3 separate regions of the Homo sapiens genome follow, and regions 1 and 2 are each linked to region 3. The links are contacts of gene promoters, found by promoter capture Hi-C in human tissues and cell types (Jung and others, 2019). All regions are on one chromosome and are shown on one strand. Each heading gives the region's core, a stretch centred on a gene start or on the middle of the fragment in contact. The rest is flanking DNA. Distances are from core to core; before and after follow the strand shown.

Region 1 (3,580 bases), core at 1,034-3,533, 870 kb after region 3:
GTTATTTGCAGCACGGCCTTTTCTCCCAGAGACAGCTAAAGGCACAGCTGAGTGTGGGTCTCCCTCCAAGGCAGTTCAGGAAAGTGAGAATCACTCCTGCTCCTTTTTCTTGGGAGTGGCAGAAAGGAGGGGCAAGAAGGAGTGTACAGAAGACTGAACTGTCCTTCAGATCTGTCATCGACCCAACCTCACAAAGGCACATCCAGGCCCAGGCCAGAGAAGGGATGGGGGCTGGGGCTGTGCTTGAAAAGATCTTACTGCCTCCTCTAATCAGGAGGCCAGCTACTGCTGGGTGACAGCCTTTGGAGGGCCAGGAGATGGTCTGTGACCTCCAAGTGAGGTCTGACAGGTGTCGGGAAATTAGTGACTTCAGGATTGTCTTTTTCAATCAGCTCAGTCTTCAGAGCAGTTTCCCTGAGCCCTCAGGCACAGCTTTTTTTATTCATAGTCATTACTTGTGCATTTCAAAAGCACCCGATGGTTGCATAATTCTGATGATAAAATATGGCTTTGGAAAGACAAGAGAGTTAAGAGTAGGATCCTGTACTTCAGTTTCCCATAAAATGAAGATGTTCTGTAATAGGGAATATCTCCCTCACAGAGTTGTAACGAGGCTGAACACACTTAAGTCAGACTCCATATGTGGGATCAATGATTTTAATCTTTGTAAAACCCAGTTTAGTTTCCTGAATGAGGATGTGGTGATAAAGGGGCAGTAAATAAGCAACAACCAATGAGCATGGGGGGCGGCAGGGGCAGAGGAGGAGGTGGGGAGCACGCCCCAGCCCAGGTCCAAGCCAGTCCAGCCCTTGCTGTGTCCAGGGACCAGTTTACTCTACTCGGATCTTGTTTCTTCACCCACAAACTAATCACTGTACTAACCTCATAGGGCTGACAGAGAATAAAAATGACACAGAAAAAAAAAAGCCACTAATATGCCAGTAGGTGCTCATCAGTAAGTGTCCTTTATGCTGCCTGGCTCCAAGAAAAGAGATCTCACATTATATATACCAAAGGTCAATCTAGCAGGGTTCAAACAAAGCACACCCAGGACTAGAAGAGGGGGCATCTGGAAACAAAGAACTCCCCACCCCTGCCACAACAGAACACGTTAGCATCCACGCTGTGGCCCCACTCTCCCCCAACACCTTCTGTGAAGAATGGCCCCTAACATTTAGGTGGACTGGAAACAGCAGAATGAAAACACAACCTCGTTTAAGAGAAGGGCCGCACTGAGATCTGTAGGAAGTCATCAGGTGGGTGAAGGACCAAGTAACAATATGTTGACATCTGACATTTGGAGACCAAGGACAAACCAGCAGGGATCTTTATGATAATAAACGGCTTCAAACCAAAAGGGCTTTCTAAGGGCTTAGCATCTGGACCTTTGCTTCACGCTCCTGTCCCCAGGTCCTTTCTGAAGGTCCTCACTCAAACTGTTTCAAAACTGTTCGTCCACTCCCAACTGGCAGACTAGAACTCACTTGTAGTATGCCATGGAGACAACCAGTAGATAATTTGTCACCAAAGCTGTTGGGTTTATGGACTCTGGAAGACTAAGCTCAAACATGTTATGCTTTAGAGATTTACAAGTTGAGACAATTAAGCTTTTAGAGTTGGAGAAAAAAAAACTTTCTAGGCCGGCGCTGTCCAACAAAACTTTCTTCGATTATGGAAAATGTTCTTGACCTGTACTGACCAGGACGGCAGCCACTAGCTACACGAGGCCACTGAGAACCTGAAATGTGGCTAATGTCACTAAGAAATTTTTTTAAAAATACTTTGAAAAGTTTAATTAGTCACACAGCTAGCAGCTACCCTACAGACAAGGCAGCTCTAAACTCCCCACACCCAGGACAAATTTAGGCAAATAAAGCTATCTTTAAAAATAAAAAATATTTAGAACAGTAGCACACCTTAGAGCTAAGAACTTGAGATGAACAGTGAGTTGTTTTTTTTCCCCTTAAGTCTTTGACATGTACTACCCATTGAGCTGTGCTCCCCAGCCCAAACACATCACTCCAGTGGCCCCTGGGCACGTTTGGTCTAACTCCAAGGCTCCCAGGACCATAATCTGAATACTGATAATTTTGACCAAACCTCTTTTAGCCACTGAATAAACCAAGATCTGGAAGGCCAACCAGCCTGCCTAGAATCACCGCCAGGTTTCAGCTCTGAGAGCTGCAGCAAGTCCCAGGCTCTTGTCAGCTAAGCCCAGCAGTGAAACAAGCCTCATCAGCCCTAGGTTATACATATTTTTACTTCCAGGACTCACCTCAGGGCCCTTCTTTGCTCCCAAGTGCAACTGGGCCTTAGTGACACCTGGCTCGGTGAACACAACCAGCCACCATTACAGAACAGGGAACACAATGTTTACCACTGACTGCTGCAAACTATCAAACCAAGCCGGAAAAACAACCAGATGGTGAAGACCCGGACAGAATGTGGACAAGGCTGCACCATTTAGTAAAATGAAAAAGTTAAGGCAAAGGACACCTTGAAAGCTATTTATTGCTGGAAAGCTAGTTCTCAGAATGCTGAATGATAACACACACAATGTTAACAATCTACTTAGAAAGCAGCAGAAAGATTAGGAGAAAAGCCCAGGGATTTAAGAATATTCCTTGGTTCTTCTCACAAAAGCCATCCAGAGGACCTAGTTTTAACTCCACACCCACGCTTCCTAGTTCCTCTACCCCTCAATTTGAATTTGTGTGACAGCCACTGAAACAATCCAGAATGACCTCCAGCTTCACCCTCACTGTTCTCAGAGGTGTGAGGATTAAAGGATTAGTGTGCTCATAACTCACCTAGCACAGTAACTATCAAGAAAGAGGCATCCTCTCAAGTTTAGCTCCCAGCTCCCCCACTACCTGTTTCTCCAGCCAGACTCTGTCCTACTTCAAACATGCTCACTGATGATGTTTTCCACAGCCCAAGCTTCAAATTAGGTACCAAGGCCAGGAGGTTCCTTCAGTGGGATGCCACATGTGATGGGAACTTAATGTTAAATGATCATAAAAGTGAAAACTGCCTGAGGTATTACACCAGGAAGGAACATGGAAGAAACAGAACTTGCCCTAAGAAGCAAGATTTAGGACTAAAATACACCCCCCACCATAAAGATGAGCAACTCTCAAACAGTATATGAGATGATTTCAATGGGACAAGATGCCCACAGGATCTACTACCTCCCCATAGTGGAAGAAAACGCCTGAGAATGACAAGCTGAAGGTATTAACTCATACCTGAAACAACTGACTTCCCCACAATAGGAAAACAGACCAAGCTACAGAAAGGCCCAATCATTCAGACTCACAGGGAAGATTAGGAAGGAGTGACCTAGGGGAACTCTACGGCCAGCTCTCTGGGTACATTGGCTACAAGCTGCCTGCTCTTCAAAGCCCTGAAATGCACACACAATCAAGTCATGTTGCAGGCTGGGAGCAGGAGGCTAGCCAGCAAAGCTTAGGGAAACCAATTCGTTTTTCCTCCCAAACAAGCTTCTGGGTCAGAGGCTAAGGAGAGGGGTGCTTTTAATAGAATTCAAGTCACTCAAGTAATTCAAGAGAAACAAAGT
Region 2 (3,596 bases), core at 916-3,415, 980 kb after region 3:
AAAAAATGCAAAAATTAGCTGGGCATTGTGGCATATGCCTGTGGTCCCAGCTACTCAGGAGACAGAGGTAGGAGAATCGCTTGAGCCCAGTAGGTTGAGGCTGCAGTGAGCTGTGATCACACCAGTGCACTCCAGCCTAGGTGACAGAGGGAGATCCTATCTCAAAAAAACAAAAAACCAACCAACCAAACAAACAAAAAACATGAGTGAAGAGGCATCACAAATTAGTGGGGCTGAGAATATTCAATATACAGTAATGGAGCAACAATTACCTTTTTTGGAGAAAAAAAGAGAAATTTAGGTCCTCTCAACACTATAAACGAAATAAGTTCCATGAGGATCAAGCAATTAAATTTTAAACTTTAAACATTAAAAAAATACAAAAATATAGTTAAATATATTTCTAATGTCTGGATGAGGAAAGAATCTAAGCAAACCCCAGAGACTGTACAAAAGAAACAATGATGGAGGTGAGAACAGAAACTTGTTATATTTCTATACAACAAAATTTCTGTAAATCAAAAATAAAAAGGCAAACAGCAAGGAAAGAGCTACAACAAATATGAAAAAGGGCAATTTTCCTAACTCATGTAGATGATTTTTTTAAACTGAACGATATATATCTGTGTATGTGTGTTTAATATACGTATCCTATAATCCCCTAACTCCAATTTTCCTTACTTAACTTTTCTAGCATCCACAAAATATGTTTTAGAAAAGAGTAGGCTAAATACATTTTCTTTGTCACTTTTTGCTAACGTAACAATTTCCAAGTTATAGCATCTTTTTTTTTTTCCTCCAAAACCACTCTGGGAAAAAAAAAAGTAGAGGGGCTGTTGTTAAAAGATGATGGGGGGGATCCCCTCGGTGACTGGAGTTTTCTGCCTTCTATTTCCTCCCTTCTCAAATTTCAAGCCCCATTGGTCAGTAAAAGAACACTGGTCCCAACAGCTAAAGAGACAGGAGTAGAGAGGAAGACAATGAGACAACGTCTTGTAAATAAGAAAGAGCCAGGGTGGTGGCCTGTGTCTGCAGTCCGGGCTACTTGGGATGCTGAAGTAGGAAGATCACTTGAGTCAGGCAGTTCCAGACCAGCCTGGGCAACATAGTGAGACCCTGACTCAAAACAAAACAACAATGAAGATTAAGAAAACCAGAAAGTGTCCTGAGGAGCAAAACAGATGACTAAAACATTACAGACTTAGCTATAAGGTTCTATATACAAGTAACACACGATTATATTGTCCTTGACAATAACAGATAAGGCTGCGCTCCCTTGAGAATGACAGATAAGGCGCAGGTACCTTTTGACCTAACCCCAGGCACTTCTCCCTTGCCTGGCAGTGACTACTGGTAAAATTGGCAGAGCTACTTATTTTACAAAATCTCCCAGACACTCGCCTAAGGGCCAGATGATCCCCATTTTAGAAAAGGAAAACAAAACTGTTCAACAACTTGCCTAAGGTCACAAGGCAAGCTTGTGGCCAGTTCCAATTCTCAGTGCTTGCTTCAGACTAGGAGAGGTTTTGCTGAAAATCAATTTGCAAGTCATCCTATTAAACACAAATCTGTTTTTTGCCAAAAAAGATCGCTGTGGGGGAAGATGTTATCTTGTTTGTTTTGATCAAGAAAAGAAAGGGCCTTATCTCAATGAAATGTCCCATTCGTGGTAGGATGTAAGGGTACTTTTGACCGCAGATTTCAGCTTAAAATAAAACGACCTTATATCCTCATTTAGCAGCCAATCATGGCCTTTGAATCGGGGAAACCTCATTGACCAGCAGTTTCCCCAAATCATACATTTCTGCACACAGCTTCTATCTAGGCGTAGGAGAGAACGGAAGCACTCAGACCACCCAGAGCCAGAAAAGGACAAAAAAAGCACTTTGAATTTTTTAAGGAAAAAAAAAAAAAAGAGTGAGATTCAAAAGCAATATAATTACACAAGGTAAGAACCGGGGAAAAGAGACATGTTTTCAAAAGCACAAACCCAGTAACAAACTCTCACGCCTGGAGAAAAAAGAGGCATGGCAGCTGGTGCGCCTCTTGCTTGAACCTACCTGCGTTCAGGCCCAGCAGCAGCGGCAGCAGCAGCAACCACCGCGGGACGGGAGAGCGCCGCAGTGCCAGCTCCATGACAAGTACCGCACGGCAGCATCAGCAACAGGCTGGACCCGGCGCCCCATCACGTGACGGAGGCGGACGGGGCGGGTCGGGGGCGGGGCCTGCGGGTCGGGGGCGGGGCCTGAATGGGCATGGGGCGGGGCCTGGGCGGACCCGGCAGCTTGCTGAGACCCGCACGCCCTCTGCCCGGCAAGCCCACCAGGACCCCTGCAAATGCGCAGGGGCCGTTCTGTCCGCCTGGCCAGGTTCTCTGTCATTTTAGGGAGAGTATTTCGGAAAGGAGACATTTGATGCAGATGTTGGATTTAGGTTGTGTGACCGGATCGAAATACTAAAGGGAATAACCACCGCCCTTTCTACCCCTCCCATCTCTTCCTTCCCTCAGCAAAAGAACCGACGTTTTCCAACACTGCTACATCTGCGAAGTCAGATTAAGCCAGCTGGTCGTTGGCAAACAGCGGGGTTTCATTTTCAGATATGTATTTTTTAAATTATTTTTCTTTTAAAGTTATGTATGTTATAAACGTTTTGGAAATATGAACAAAAAAGTTATACATAACTATTGTTGGCATTTTTTCCCATAGTCTTTTACGTCATTTTAAAAAACACTAATAAAGATTTTTATTTTTTTTTTCTTTTTTGATAATTTGTCATTAGTATTACTCTGTGTTACGTTATCTTCACAGCAGTCATTTTAAAGAGAGAATCGAGGGTCTGGGGACGGGAAAGGAAGAAAAAGTGGATGACAGAGCTGTTTTCCTCTGTGTGTGTGTGTGTGTGTGTGTGTGTGTCTGTCTGTCTGTCTGAAGGTCATTTTTACGTTAGAGGGTACTGAATAACTCACCTCACAGCTAGGAGACAAGCTACAGCAGGGGCTGTAGGAGAGGCTACTTCTAAATACTGCTTCAAAAGTACATGTAACAAAAAGCAAAAAACAAATCAAAGTACATGTGGCCACTTCTCCTCTTTCCCTGCTCCTTTCTCCCTCCCCTCGCCCTTGACCCCCATAAATGGAAGTGCTTTTTACTCTGCAGCCATTGTCTGGACAGAGCCTTGACCCCGCCCTGCCTGTGAGGTGCCCCTGCACTGAAAGCTGCGGCAGAGAAAAATATGCCGCCGGGTTCTGTCATGCTTTAAGCATGGGATGGTCCCGAATGCATAAAATCCATAATGCCTGGGCAACATATTGAGACCCCCTCTCTACAAAAAATAACAAAAATTAACTGATGTGGTGACACGCGCCTGCTGTCCAAGCTACTCAGAAGGCTGAGGTGGGAGGATCACTTGAGCCCAGGAGCTCCAGGCTGCAGTGAGCAGGTGTTCCATGCCATATGGGAGATACATAAAAGTACATGCTTAGTTAAAAATAAATAACTATCTAGCAAACTTTTCCTGTCTGAAGCTTCCAAGTTGGTCTGTATCACTAGGGCTTGAAATACACTTACCCTTCCACTGCAGTCAGAATTTTAGGG
Region 3 (3,747 bases), core at 104-2,603:
TTTAACCTGGGGCCTGAAGACCATCTTCTGGGATTTCAAGCACCCTGCCTCCCCCGGAAATTGAATGCACCAGGGAGTGAAGTGTGGGGAGAGAGGAGCAGGAGAGAGGAGATCCTCAGAGGGGTTTGGAAACCCAGTCCTGGAGTTCCGTTCAACATGCTAACCTAACGTTGGGCCTCCCCGAGGAGGGTGTGGTTCTGAGGTTTCTCCCCCTCCCAGTTTCCCACCTTGCTGAAGAAACTTGCCCTTGACATGCAAATGATGGAAACACATTGGTGTCTGGGGCACTTTGGTTTGTGGTTTTTACCATCAGCTGTCTCTGAGGCTGAGCGTGTCGATCTGTCTCAGCAAGGCTAGCAAATTGCAAGCGCTCAGAGGAGGGGAGAGGGGGGCTATTCCTGGGGTTCTGGGCCCAGATGGGCAAATGGGTCTGTAAGGCAGACTTTTCCAGGAGGAGGGTGCAGACCCTTTGCAAGTTGTTTGGGGACAGAGCTTAGTTTGCATCTGGCCTTCTTCACCCTCCTCAGATCCCCTAGGTAGCAGGGTGCTTGGTGGTCACCACCTGACCTAGGCTACCTACTCCCAAATTGGAGTCTGAAATGAAAGCACGTGGGAAAAGTATAGCAAAGGTCAGTTTCCCATTTATTAAACAAGTTCTTCCGTGGAAAATCTTCCCAGGGCTCAGCAGCCCTTGAAGTGATCAGGGATGCTGGGGAGGTTGGGGGAGGAGAAAATGGGAGATGGCAGGTGGTATCTGTCGGTGTGGACGAGTGATAGCTTTGATTTGCTCCCCCTTCCCACCATCTCCTGTGTCCTCAGCATTTGATTTGGTTTCCTTTCCGGGGCCCTAATTCCAGGGAGGTGCCCCTCCTCCACACCTGTGTCCCAAGCCCCAGCTGTGCGTCCTCACCCTGGGTTCCTGGCACTGACCTGGAACCTGTCGGGCAGCCCTGCTCTTAGCTCCCCGCGGAGTCTCGGAGGTCTCAGGTCTCCTCCGCCCACCCTCTCCGCAGCTGGGAGGGGCAGGATGCCCCGCACCCCGCTCTGCGCGGGAGGTCGAGGCACCCCGCTCACGCCCTCCTGCCCGCAAGCTAGGGAGTCACTGCGGCCGGGGAGGGAGGTACACGGAGGGCATTTTTCCAGCCTTCACTGGGTGCTCCCCTCTCCACCCCCGGCAACCATGTAGGTTTCCGGACCCCCAGGTCCGCTTCCCTCCTCTCTGGAAAGGGGTCGGCCATAGGGAAAGGGCCCGGGGGCGCCGCAGCCGGGCCCCCGCCCCGCCCCGCCCGCAGCCCCGCTCCTCCCCGCGCGGCCCCACTTGTGGCCCTGCCGGCAGCCGCGCAGGGACAGCTGCATTTCTCGCCGCCCGCCGCTAGGAAGCCGGCCTCGCCTCACTTTCTCCGCCTCCCCGCGCCCCAGCCGCGCCGCCGCCGCCGAGCCTGGCCCCGCCGCCACCGCTGCGGATTGCAGCCCCTCCCCCGCCCGGCCCGCGGCCCGGCCCCTGCGGCCCGCGCGGAGCGGACGCGCGTGGCGCTGCCCGGTAAGACCCCCGCGCTCCCGCGGCTCCCGCCCGGCCCCGGGCGCGGTCCTCGCCGGCGCCCCGCGCGCAATCCCGGCCGCGGCCCCGGCCCAGCGGCCCCACCTTCTCGGGACCCGTTGCCCAGGCGCCGCCGGGAGGGCCGGGCCGTCGCGAGTTTGATTCCCGGGGCTGTCGGCGCGGCTCCCCGGGAGCTCCGCGTGCGGCAGGTCCCCGCCCGCCCTTCCTTCCCGAGCCCCCACCTCATCCCGGGCCCCGGGCGCGGGGGGCGTGCGGGCATCTGGGGGGCCGGGAGCGGGGCGCGCGATTAGACCGGGGGGCGCGGGCCAGCGCCGCAGGGAAGGGAGACGAGGCCTCCCGGAGCCGGCTTCGCCCGAGTCCCCTCTCCCGCCGCTCCCCCTTTTGTGTGGGCGCCCCTCCCCGCAGTGCCCGGGCCTGGGGGCGCAGGCTGGGCGGCGACGGCAGGCGGGGGCGCCTGCTGGGAGCCGAGCGCCTTTCAGGGGGAGGGGAGCTTCGCTTCCTGCCCCCCGCCGATGTCACAGGTCGGCTCAGCCTTTTTTGGTCCCTCCCGGTCCCCTGGGAGCTGTATCTCCCGTCAGCTCGGCCAGGGAAAGTTGGGAATGCGCTGTCCCCGCCCCTGCTCGCCCGCCCCGCCGGCTCCTGTGCCCCAGGCTCTGAGCTCCAAGGGGGGCTGGTGTCAGCGTTTATTCATTCCTCCCTCTTCCTTTTCTCGGTCGCGTGGTCGCCTTACACCCAGCACTGCCCTGCCCATTTCTTTTCCCCTTAAAAAAAGTTTTAGCTCTAAGAAACGTACACTGAAATTAAATTCCTGAGACGGAATGTGTTTTAAGGGGAGGGAGGGTTTAGATTTTCCTTTTTTTGGTGGAGTAGTGGAGTAGAAGATGAGGGGACTCCCTGGGAGTTTAGAAACAAGATGCCCTGGAGGCGATAGAGGATACAAGAAGACCATCCACCGTGCTCCCCACCTGATCCGCAGTCAGCGTCTTGTAGCGAGAGGAATGAGCCTTCCCTGGGTGATCCCGCAGCACCTGAGCCACCTGGCCCAGGAGAAAGGACTCAGGGAGATGTACTGGGCCTTTCACCCCTTTTCTTTATAGCCAGCTGTGCCTGAAGGAGGTGAGGGACCCCAGGAATTCTCTCACGGAGGAAGTCATCTCACCATGTGGTTGGGCCCCTGCTGGATCAAGTGTGAAGCTGGGTCCTCTCTGTTGTTGGGGGTCAGTGCCACTGGTACCTCAGTTTGAATATGGTGCCATCTCTGGGATGGAGAGGTGCTGCTGGGAGAAACCTGGCTCGGGTCTCCAGGAAGCTGGAGCGTGTGCAGCAGGGCTGGGTGTGAAACCCGCTGTCCACTTTCTGCAGCTGGAAGGGCCAGGACAAGGGAAACAGGATACTGCTACCGACCTGGGCACATCCTTGAATAGAAGAGAGACCCTGGACAGCGAGGATGGCCCAGGGATGTTGATATGACTAGGGCTGTATCCCCAGCTCCTGGGCCAGGCCAACTAGGGCCAGAGGTTGGAGTCATGGGCCCCTTTGAGAATCTGGTGAAAGCTCTAACTCCTCTCCTTCCAAAATGCATGTGTGTAGGGAGACACCTGTATTCAACACCAGACGGTTAATATACCCCCTTGGAACCAGGACCTCCATTGAGACCTCTGCCCTAGAGTTACTGGTCTGACCTGGGCCATCAGAACAGTTGTCACCTTTTTGGCTGGTCAGTGAATAATCCCAGGGTTCAAAGAGCAGACTGCTTCTAAGGTCTTTTCTCATGACCTCCCTATGCAACTTTGGGCTTGTGGCCATGGAGACCTGGAGTGTCTGGACAGATCCCAGCTCCCTACAGCTAGCTAGAGGATGGGGGCAGATGAGGTGGCCCTTTTCCAGGGGCTCATTTTGCTGTCTGTGTGGTGGGAAGGCCCTGGGCACTGGACTAGGCCCACTGGTCTATTGAATTAGAGGTAAATAAAGGGATTTGGGTGGAGGTGGATATTCTGGTGTTTCAGCTGGGTGTGAGATCCAGGCCTTTAAGAGCTCCAGCTTGTTCTTGGGGAAATGGGGTTGAGGTGCTTTAGTAGAGAGTGTTAAGTGTGAAAGACGACTCTTAAGGAGGTCTTGGGGCAGAATTGTCCAAGGCTATGATCTGGGTGTTGTCGGTTCCTTAGATCCCTTTGGACTCTTGAAGGCAA

What was found. Contacts are between HindIII fragments. The study calls those that stand out against the background at their distance.
Region 1: a contact is called between a fragment that was not itself captured here and the fragment with the promoter of CUEDC1 in region 3, in 3 of the 25 tissues and cell types used here (aorta, dorsolateral prefrontal cortex and hippocampus).
Region 2: a contact is called between the fragment with the promoter of SCPEP1 here and the fragment with the promoter of CUEDC1 in region 3, in 1 of the 25 tissues and cell types used here (aorta).

The regions. Positions count from the first base shown.
Region 1 is chr17:57,087,662-57,091,241 of GRCh38, reverse strand. All of the region lies in intron 1 of AKAP1 (A-kinase anchoring protein 1), which reads right to left. Among named protein-coding and RNA genes, the nearest start is that of AKAP1, 4.2 kb to the right of the region's middle. The HindIII fragment of the contact is 3,932 bases long and covers 318-3,580 here.
Region 2 is chr17:56,976,700-56,980,295 of GRCh38, reverse strand. SCPEP1 (serine carboxypeptidase 1) reads right to left here and starts at 2,165. Exons shown (of 13, transcript NM_021626.3): 1 at 2,061-2,165. The coding sequence starts at 2,136. RefSeq lists a silencer at 2,223-2,282. The HindIII fragment of the contact is 4,443 bases long and covers 1-3,596 here.
Region 3 is chr17:57,953,018-57,956,764 of GRCh38, reverse strand. CUEDC1 (CUE domain containing 1) reads left to right here and starts at 1,353. Exons shown (of 11, transcript NM_001271875.2): 1 at 1,353-1,540. RefSeq lists a silencer at 1,429-1,498. The HindIII fragment of the contact is 13,236 bases long and covers 1-3,747 here.